Regions from separate parts of the Homo sapiens genome. Here all the other regions are linked to region 1. The links are contacts of gene promoters, found by promoter capture Hi-C in blood cells and fetal thymus (Javierre and others, 2016). All regions are on one chromosome and are shown on one strand. The core of a region is centred on a gene start or on the middle of the fragment in contact, and the rest is flanking DNA. Distances in the headings are between cores, read along the strand shown.

What was found. Contacts are between HindIII fragments. The CHiCAGO score rates a contact against its expected background, and 5 or more counts as called.
Region 2: a contact is called between a fragment that was not itself captured here and the fragment with the promoter of FBXO5 in region 1, in 1 of 17 cell types (naive CD8 T cells). The highest score is 5.7, in naive CD8 T cells.
Region 3: a fragment that was not itself captured here is called in contact with the fragment with the promoter of FBXO5 in region 1 in 1 of 17 cell types (total B cells); the score reaches 5.8 in total B cells.

The regions. Positions count from the first base shown.
Region 1 is chr6:152,980,887-152,984,312 of GRCh38, reverse strand. It overlaps FBXO5 (F-box protein 5), which reads left to right and starts at 1,272. Exons shown (of 5, transcript NM_012177.5): 1 at 1,272-1,456. The coding sequence starts at 1,354. RefSeq lists enhancers at 309-428, 719-938 and silencers at 969-1,288, 1,769-1,838. The HindIII fragment of the contact is 9,521 bases long and covers 1-2,366 here.
Region 2 is chr6:152,294,540-152,298,265 of GRCh38, reverse strand. All of the region lies in intron 93 of SYNE1 (spectrin repeat containing nuclear envelope protein 1), which reads left to right. Among named protein-coding and RNA genes, the nearest start is that of SYNE1-AS1, 84 kb to the left of the region's middle. The HindIII fragment of the contact is 5,328 bases long and covers 1-3,726 here.
Region 3 is chr6:152,149,992-152,153,512 of GRCh38, reverse strand. It overlaps SYNE1 (spectrin repeat containing nuclear envelope protein 1), which reads left to right. Exons shown (of 146, transcript NM_182961.4): 134 at 1,372-1,554; 135 at 1,823-1,960. Among named protein-coding and RNA genes, the nearest start is that of SYNE1-AS1, 230 kb to the left of the region's middle. The HindIII fragment of the contact is 2,069 bases long and covers 802-2,870 here.

The sequences.
Region 1 (3,426 bases), core at 23-2,522:
GGCCGCGCCCCACCGGACTCGTCACTAACGGTACTGAAAACTGACTACAGCCAAGAACTCACTCCGAGGCTGCAGAAAGGCACCAGAGGGAAACAGCAAAGGAGGATTCGCCGTTTTGGAGTTCACATCCCGTTGCTTCACTGGGCTGTAGCCATAAAGCTGAGTTCAGGGAATGCACTGCCCTACTTAAGTGCATATTCAAATTGTGAAAAGTTAAGCATCACTAATACTCCGGTACACTTTCATACTGACGTCCATGCCAGCCATCACTAAAAACTCCCTTGGCCACGGGGGTCCAGCCCAAGAGGGCGGGCACTTCTATTTATTCTTTTTTTGGGAGCAGGACTACTGTCTCCTACACCTGGCCCTTTAAGGAAAGGAACAAAAACCCAGGGGAGCGTAGCTGCACACTCAGTAAACTTAACGTTCCTATAAACCAGTAGCGTCTGAAGTGTGGTTGAAAATACAAATAAACGCGCTTGCAAGGAAGAAGTGCCTCGGTCCTACCCTCGGCCCCGCCGGAAGGCCCTGGGAGATGCAGCCGCAGGTCTCCTGCTACAGCCGCTGGGGAAGGCCGCACAGCCTCCTCGCCCACCCCGGAGGAAAAAATCGCGGGGGACTCCAGTGCGCAGGCGCCGACCCGCCAACTCCGCAGCCACAGCCCGCCAAGGCGCCTGCGCAGAGGCGTGGGTCAAGGGGAGGGTCGAGTTAGGAGGGAGAGCAGAGCGCGCGCGTAAATCCTAGAGAGGCGGGCTAAGCTGGACTGGGGGGAGGGTCCGTCTTCCGGAAAGTCTGGATTCCCGGACGAGCCGAGTTGCTGCTCACCGAACTCCCGTTCGAGAGATGATCGAAGAAAGTCGGCTACCATTTGTACCCATCAAAGATCTCCAGATGGAAGCCAGCGCTGAATTTGGGCTGAGATTAGGACTTGCAGGAGGCCGGTCCAGAAGACGGCGGAAGGAATCTTGGCGGGCGCACGCATGCGTGATAGACCCTCCACACGTGTGGCCGGGCCGCGGCCTCCCCGTGCTCGGAGGTCCCGCCCCCGGCCGTAGCATCTTTCCGGACGTGGGGAGCCGGTAAGCTGGAAGGGGGCTGGGCTTCGCGGCTCGGCCCCGCCTCGGCAGCCTCCAATTGGGCGCGGACGAGGGCGCCCCCACCCACTGCCCTCCTATTGGTGCGCGCATGCAAGCGACGCGTCTCATTGGACCGCGCGGATTTAGGCACCAAATTCAAAGATTTTAAAAGTACCAGCTGGCGCCTTTTAAGAGATACAGGTCTGTGAAGCAGGCAGGTTGCTCAGCTGCCCCCGGAGCGGTTCCTCCACCTGAGGCAGACTCCACGTCGGCTGGCATGAGCCGGCGCCCCTGCAGCTGCGCCCTACGGCCACCCCGCTGCTCCTGCAGCGCCAGCCCCAGCGCAGTGACAGCCGCCGGGCGCCCTCGACCCTCGGATAGTGAGTGAGGGGAGCGGTCGCGAGGGGGGCGCGCACGCCAGGAGGGGTGCACGGGGAGGGTCGCAGCCTGAGACCCTGACCCGACGTCCCTCGGAGCCTGGACGCGCGGCCATGCCACACGCCCGGCCTCGGGCGGCGGCAGCGGTTCCTGGGTCCGGGAGGAGGGCGGCTGGGTGTCGGGGGGAAGCCAGAAGAGCCAGATGTGCAGGGGCGGGATGGCGGGCCGCGGGGTCCCGCCACCCACGCCGACCGTGGACTCCAGCCCCGGGAGGTGCGGGTCGTGGCATCCCAGGGCGCCCTTTTTCCTCCTCGGAAGACCCACCTACCCCACCCTGCTTGAATAGGCGCCAAATGCCCCTCCCCTCCCCCACCCCGGGGCCCCCGGCGGTGACAGGGCTGCGAGCGAGAAGCCCCCAGGGCCTGGCCAGGTGCCTCACCTTCTCCCCCTGCGCCCCTTTTCTACATCTGCCCCGCACCCTCACAGCCAAAGGCAGTTTCCCCGATTTTTCGCGGTCCCAGCCTTGCTGGCGGGCGCGGGAGATCGCGCTCGCGGTTATCTCCCGCCTCCTCCGCGTGTCCCGCGCCCTGAGGGGCAGCCCCACCGATCCCTCAGGAGTTCCAGGGTCTCCCTCCCCACTCCCGCCAAATGGAGAGACACCCCCCCAACTCATTGGACCAAACTCAACTGGGACATCCAAACAAAAACGTTACTTTTTCCCAATTTTTTCTCCCTTTGCCCGTTAACCCAGTCTCAGGGCCTGGAGTGGAAAGGGAAGACTTTAAAAAAAGCAATTTTTACTACGAACCTTGAATTTGTCCATAGTATTAAGATGATTTTGTAAGAATCGAAGAATTGGTGACTTTTTCCCGATAACTCATGAAGAATTAGATAGTCCTTTATTTCAAAGCTTGCAGAGAATGGAATGCACTCAAATGCTTATTTTTATCCTCTTTGTTGCTACCTCTAAATAAAATCTATATGCACTTATTTTTACCTGAGAAATAACCCAAAATGAAAAAATTTAGCAATTCGGCATTGTACTATTTTGTAATGACTCTATTATTAAAAAAGAACTCTAGAAAAAAATACTTAATTTTAATTTTAATAGATTAAATATATTTCTAGAAGATCCTGGATCGTCAGTCTACCATCGAAATTCTGAAGCTTGATGGCCTTATGAGGGTTTTTTTTTTTTCTTTTTTGATAACTCTAATTGTCTTTACTACCTTGCTCCTCAGAAAGAAATGACTGCCTGTTGGAATTTTTTCCCCAGTTTACAGGTTTGAGGAGATGAAATTAAAAATACATATATGTTACTTCCAAGTAGTTTTCAAAGGAGGCTTTTGTAAAATTTTCTCTTAAAGATTACTTTATGGTCACAAGCATTGGGCCTCTTAAATTCTTAAGGAATAGCCATGCCTAACGTTGACCACATGGTCGTTATCTGTAGGTATTAGAGACTGGAACTTAATTATTTAACAGAAGAGTTACAAAGATTTTTAAGGACTGCAGCCTTATTTATGATATTTGATATGGAGGATCAGGTCTATATTGAAAAGTTAAATGTAAGATCAAACATTGTAAAATTTACTTTTCTCTATATGACTGGGCTGGGAGTTGGTAAATGAGAAGTTTAAACAATGCCATGTATGAGTCTTATTAGTGTCTGCACTTGGGGGAAAAATAGGAATAGGACATTCCAAGTTCACAAAGCTAGTCAAAAGGCTAAGCAAGGATTTTCATTCAAACTTGGATCTGATTCTTAAATCTATACATTCTAATGGAAAAGTATGTGTTACTCTGAAATATATACTTCTTTGTGAAATGTGTTTTACTACTTTCAAATGTTAATGATTGTCAATGTAAGGAATATGAAGGGATTTGGCTTATGTGATTAAAAATAGATTGTATTGACTAGACCCTTGTGATAGGGACTTTGCCTTGCATTTAGTCCTGTTTCATTGTCTTA
Region 2 (3,726 bases), core at 636-3,135, 690 kb after region 1:
TGCAGCTCTTTCTCCTCTAAGCTGAGTGCACCTGGGAAGTCCCTTGATACCCTCATTTGTAAGTGAGAAGCAATACTACTTAATTCACAGCATTGTGAAAATGAAATGTGACATGAATCGTGAAAGTGCTTTTTAAACTAGAAAATACTGATCAAATAGTAGCTACAGTTGTCCAAATTTATTTCCTTAGGAATCTACTCATAAGTCTTATAACTTAGGCACATAAGCAATGAGAAACGTATTTGTAACAGTGACTCCTCACTACATCAAGTATTGACTTTAGTAGTTATTTATAGTACTGAGTGATTTATTTTAATTCAATTTATGTATGTACCTCAAATAAATAGAAATTATTCATCTATAAAAGGTGACATATTTTCAAATCCTTTTAAGAAACCAGGAGTTGTCATTCATATCTGTAGGCATGAGCCACGTGCGCGCGCACACACACACACACACACACACACACACACACACACACACAGAGTGAGACTGCCAGAAAAAAATTATTTGTAATAAATTTATTTTATTCTAGCTCTTTTGGGAGCCTTCTGTATTTATAATAGAGTATCTAATGTAAAATGTTTACACCATTTAAAGGCATTCCTGCTTTTCCTTATGGACAGTAATAGTATTACTTTACATGTATATAAAATAATAGAATTTATATAAGTGCATTTACAAGCATGATTTATTATGAACATATAGGCCTGCCTGTTATTTGCCAAACACTCCACAATGTGCTCAGGATGAAGACGAAAAGCAGTGACCCAGACAGCCCTTAGGGAGCTTACAGTGTGTGTGAGGACAGGCAAATGCTTACAAGAGAAGGTGGCAGGTAGTGTGGCCGAGGGCAGTACAGTGTTGTGGGAGGGCCTAGAGAAGGCACCTAAACTGGCTGGAGTCAGGCAGAGGTCAAGGATGGCCCCCTTTAGTTTTAAGGGAGGAGCACAGTTAGGCAGTTGGAGTGCAGTTGGGTCGTGTGAGATGAAGATTTTCAGGCAGAAGAAACCACCTGTTGGAAGCTGTGGAGGCGGGAAGCAAAATGGCCCATCCAGGCAACTGCAAATAGTTTCAGTGTAATTGGAGAAACATTGGAGGAGGAGGAGAGGGGGAAATGAGACTGAGAGGGATATGGGAACCACATCATGGAGGCCCTGAATGCCACAGGAAGGAATTTCAGCTTCCTCCAGAAGCTAATATTTAACCACTGAGGGAATTTAATGAGAAGCTGTGTACAGAACTGATACTTCTGGATCAATGTGGACAGGAGAATAGAAGTGTGCAAATTCAGAGCCAGGGGAGCTGTTAGAAACAGAAGTTACACAGTCTCATGCTTGGTCCACCCTGGTGATAAAAATGAGAGAAACAGGCCAGGAGGGACTACAGAGGCCAGGAGGGACTACAGAGGCCTGGACAGCTCCTGCTCCACATAAATGAGGCAATGTCTCCTCTGTTAGCATTACTTTAACAAAGACACAGGGCCCAGTGTTACCATACCTTGTGGTTTGCAAAACAAGCTACGAATGTGAATTTTAATGAAATCTCTCTATCTTCATGAAGAGAGATTTTAAACAATTTAAAACATTGTATAAGCCACACTAAATATGTGCAGGTCAGAGGCAGCCCACAGGCTGCCAGTTTGCAACCTTTGAGTTAGGAAGCTGTTACTGTAATGAGAACTTGAACCAAGGCTGTGGCCAGGATATGCATCGTTAGCACTCCATCCTCCCATAAGCAGTGGATGTTAAGGGGGAGGAGAAATCAGGAATAAATCCCAAGTTTATAGCTTAGGTGAGAAGACATTCCATTTATTGCAAGATGGATAATACTTCATTGTTTTTTCCTAAATTGGTTCCTTTTGGAAATGTTGACTTTGAAGAGCCTACAGGATATGCATGAACATCTGGATATGTGAGTCTGGAGCTTATCAATTCACCAATATTGGCGAGTGAGTGGAAAACAAACTATAAAAGAGAAAGAGTGAATGACTAGAAAGCTGGGAGGAGAACAGAGAGATTTTTTAGAAAGTGTTTCCGGAAAGGGTTTGTCAGTGCTATTGAATGCTAGAGGTCTGGCAAGGGAAGGGATGAAAATTCATCATTTTTTGTCAAAGAGAAGAAGCTGGTGAGAGCAAGCTCTGCAGTCATCAGGATCAAAGTCCAAACTGGAATTTAGAAGTGGATCGAGGGTGAGAAAGTCCCATGAAAATCACCCTTTCAGAAGTTGGATTATGAAATGAAAGGGAGAAAACAAAGAAATTAGGATGGAGCCTGTGTGTGCAAGTGCATTCACGTGTGACGATCCGTCACATTGTGAACTGTGGACTTTTTAGAAAATGTGATATCCTTCAAGAAAACAAATAAAAGAAACAGTGCGTGCAGGTGTTTTTGGATGGAAGAGAGAAAGTCAACAAAGCCAGAGAGGATGTTAATAGACCAAGATCCTTGAAAAAGCAGTTTATGGGATTCTCAGAGTCTGTGGGAGAGTCAGGTTTAAGCAGTGAAACTGGAAAGCATAAGATAAGGGTGAGTGTGAATATACATAGACTTTTGAAAATTTGAGAAGTTGCAGTATCTCCTTGACAGCTTGGATTGCATGTGTATGTGTGTGTGTGCGTGTTTGTGTGTGTATGTGTGTGTGTGTGTGTCAGTAACACACACACATGCATAAATGACTCTGGATTGAGTCATGTTTGCGGGTTTCCAAGTGGATGAAGTAAAGGTTAAAAGAGCAAGAGAAACAAGAGTCTTGGCAAGAAAGGGGTTTAAGTAACTTCAGACATAACTACAAGTCCAGCTGAGCGATGACAGCATACAAGGGTGTGGAGGACTGAAGTGGGGTGGGAGTGAGTGAGGATCAATGGATCTAAAGCTATTAAGGACATGAAGAGTAATCCACTCAAGACAGTGACAGGGTTAGGAATAAAGAGGAAGCAGTCTCCATGTTCCAATATCATCAATAAATGTTGGGGACTCATCTGGAGACCTCAGGAACAACAACAAAATGGGTAGAAGCTGTCATAGTCACTCAAATATTATTTCATATAATCCTCAATCCCACCCAAGATTGGACCAATGAGTGAACCAGTGTGCAAGATATAAGTTATTTGCTCCAATTATATAGCTACACAAGAGGAGAATTTCGCTAGAATCTCAGCTGTCCCAGTCTGAATTCATTCTACCGCATGACACTGCTACATTTGTTTCTCAGACGGCTGGAGCCTTCTTCAATACTTTTTACCAATACATGATTCTCAATAAGACTCAGGTATTTTAAGCTGACATAATTCCCTTCAACAGTACAACTGCAAAAGCAATGAACTTTATAATAGCAATTACTCCCCCAATTAAATTTCTACTGAAATACAGATAAATAACCATAGAAACAGTTAAAAACCATCTTTACTATATCTCTTGATATATCTTTACTATATCTCTTGATATAGTAAATTTTATCAGTACAAATAAAATATGTAATGTTATAATAGGTTTAAAAAATTTGAAAGCATGATATTTCATCATTCACTTTGTTTTTTTTGTGTGTATACTTTTAGGAAATGCATAGAAAACCTTTATATTATTTGTTTCTTAGAGTAGTGGTAACTTCCCCATTACATTTTTCTTATTTAATATCAAAATATTTAAATTAATTCAGCAAATGATGAACCCACAGATAGTGAAGATCTGGCTGCATCTGTAGATTTAATTTTATTTAAGTCAAGTA
Region 3 (3,521 bases), core at 587-3,086, 830 kb after region 1:
AAAGTTAGCCTTATAGTTAGCTTCTATAATGATTGATTTTATTATTTATCATGAATTTTGTAGTTAATTTTCTTAAGAGACAGAAATGAATTGCAGAAACGAAGTTGTGCTTGGGGGCAGTCTTTAGCTGGTCCAATCGCATGAACGTTTGGGATGGACATGGGTGTGCTGGGGTATCTGCCTGGGGGTACTCCAACCTTACCCCAGTGGGCAAACATGTACTGGGACTTCCAGTCATGGCCAGAGCTGAACTTTCCTTACCACTCCCTTTGCTGGAGAAATAACTTAAGGTTTTTAGACTGGAAGCTAGGATTTCCTAGGATGAAGGCTCTGAAAGCAGCTCTCACAAGGAAAGCAATTTAAGAGACAGAAATGTGGTCACATGTAAACAGTGTGATGAGCCAAGGAAAACAGAATTTGGGGATTTGATGAGTGCGGTTCAATTTATTAATTATAGTTTTCATTTTGGTCTAATGCCAAGATAAAAATCAGTCATAAATCATACAAATGATTTTTTTTAAAGCTTCATTTTATTTTGGCCAAATGACTCTTATGCTATAGGGCTCTTCTACATTGGAGGGAAAAGGCAGAAAAGAATATTTTACCTTCAGAATCTCTAAACTGACCCTGGGATAGCCTCAAAAGTAAATTGATGCTACTGTGTGGGTGGTACACTAGCTCTAACATGTTTTATAAAAACTAATTAAATCACAGGAACAACAAAAAAGAAACAGAGCATGTTCCAAATTTTTTAAAATATAAAGTTACTTGTATTTTACTAAATTACTTTTCTTAAAAGCTTATAATAGCTTGATTTTTTGGAAGACCTTTTGCAAAAGGTAGTTTTAAGTTTTTTCCTAATGGACAGCAGAATTGAGGTAATTTCTAGATTTTTAGAAAAGTACATATTTTACAAATAAACAGTTCCATTATAGATATCTTTTTCTCCATATTGACAGCAGAAGTTGTCAACATTTCAAACTCACATTTCCACACACACGTGTATATTTTTTATAGTGGTTTGCTTTGTGGGAATATTTGTTTCCAGGACATTAATTATTTTTAAAGCTACGTGTATATGTGTGTGTATGTATGTGTGTGTGTCTATATATGTGTGTTGGATGCGTGTGTGTTTATTCATTACTACTCCCCATTTTCATATTTTTTGATAGATTCTCCCTTTCCTTTAAGTTACGCTGACTAGATGACTTTGCATTAACAAGGGGAAGTGTACCGTTATTAGACATCATTCTTTCCCTCTGTGATAGTGTAACTTCCCATTCTCCCAGACGCTACAATAAGAAAACCAGGAGCCACTACTGAGAGTCCTTCGCTGATTTCTCACACTGATATGCTTCTCTGTGGCCTTAGGCTTTCCAGCGACAGGTCCACGAGTGCCTGACGCAGCTGGAACTGATCAACAAGCAGTACCGCCGCCTGGCCAGGGAGAACCGCACTGATTCAGCATGTAGCCTCAAACAGATGGTTCACGAAGGCAACCAGAGATGGGACAACCTGCAAAAGCGTGTCACCTCCATCTTGCGCAGACTCAAGGTTTTTGCTATGCCTCATCTGTAATTTAGAGGCCAGAGGATGGGACTGGGCCATTTGAATGCAGTCTTGAGACACAGTCTCAGTGATTTTGTAAGAATGGGATGGCAGGAGGAGTAAACCGGGGAGTGATATAGCAAAGGATTGCAGGCTTCTCATTGCTTGCTGAGAAAATGACTTTACAGAACACTGGAATTCGCTGTGCCATCTCCATATGTTTAGAAGGACTTTTAATAAAAATAATTGTTACTACTTTCCTCTTGCCTTCCAGCATTTTATTGGCCAGCGTGAGGAGTTTGAGACTGCGCGGGACAGCATTCTGGTCTGGCTCACAGAGATGGATCTGCAGCTCACTAATATTGAACATTTTTCTGAGTGTGATGTTCAAGCTAAAATAAAGCAACTCAAGGTAATAGATTATTTTTCAAGTTACCAAAGTGAAGAAAGCCTGAAAATGAAAGGATTTGTGGCTCTTTTGTGAAGAACATAGCAAATAACTTTTCTTTTGAAAAATTAGTTCTGGACTGCAAAAAAATTCAGAAAATGTAAAATATATAAAAAATCAGATAAAGAGCACTACCCAGAAATAACCACTATTGCTTATATCTGGGTAGTGCTCTTATCTTATTTGATATCGATATTGTTGTTGATATTTTTCAACAGCTTGATTGATTTTCAATCAGCTTGATTGCCAGGGTGTTAGGGATGTTCTGCTGTTGTTGTTTTGTTTTTTTTTTTTTTAGAGAGAGTCTCACTCTGTCGCCCAGGCTGAAGTGCAGTGGCGCAATCTTGGCTCACTGCAACCTCCACTTCCCTGGTTCAAGCAATTCTCCTGCCTCAGCCTGCCAAGGAGCTGAGATTACAGGCACATACCACCAAGTCCGGCAAATTTTTGTATTTTTGTATTTTTTTAGTAAAGATGGGGTTTCACTATGCTGGCCAGGCTGGTCTCGAACTCCTAACCTCAAGTGATCCAGCTGCTTTGGCCTCCCAAAGTGCTGGGATTACAGGTGTGAGCCACCCTTCCTGGCCTTGTTGTTGTTGTTTTCGTTTATTTTTTCTAATGTGTTTGTAGCACCTTCACATGGTTCCTTTAACCTCCATGTTGCAAAGCAATACAACTTTCCTATGTCGGGATTTCATTCCTCATAGTCTGCATTCTTAGATGCCAAGTTAATTTTAAACACATTTTGTATTTTTCACTATATAATTCAAACACAGTGGCTAGCTAGAAATTCGAATAGGAGGGATATACATTAGATGTAAGGATTTCCTAAAAGTGGGAGTATTTAACAAATTGAGTGTTTTCCAAGGAAGCTTATGAAATTTTCCTCCCAAGATAGATGGATTTTTTTAAAGAATGGTCATGACGCCCATAACCTTTGGGTTGTTATGATAAAACAAGGAACTTGCCCGTAGACATGGATTCTCAGGATGGAAGAAACAGTAAACCCTGCTATTCTGCCTCACCCTCTCCCCTGATTCCTCTCTCCTGTCATCTCACAGGCGAATCAACATTTACATCCTTCCACAGAAAGTTTCTGCCAAGTGTAATTGAATCTTGTCCCTTGGGACCCTGGCAGGATGATGGAAATTATTACTACCCTCTCTTCTCTCCTGGGAGTCTTTTTCACCATTGGACAATTCAGCTCTTCCACAATTTATTATTGTATTGAATTAAAAGTGAACACTGAAACATACCCAGTGATTTAAATCTTTTGCAACACATAGAATGAGTCTAAATAATCCTCCTGGAATTCCTTGTTTTTCAAATCATAACTTTACCTGCCTATGTTCTGAAATAATAAAAGAATCACCTGAGAAGAAGGCGTGGCATTGGATGGCTTCTCTTAGTCATGTTTGACATAGGATGAGGATATCTGAAATTAAAATGATCGGGATATTTCTTTAAAATGCTACATTTATTTCAGTGACAGTATATTGACTGCCATTGCTTTCATTAGGGATAA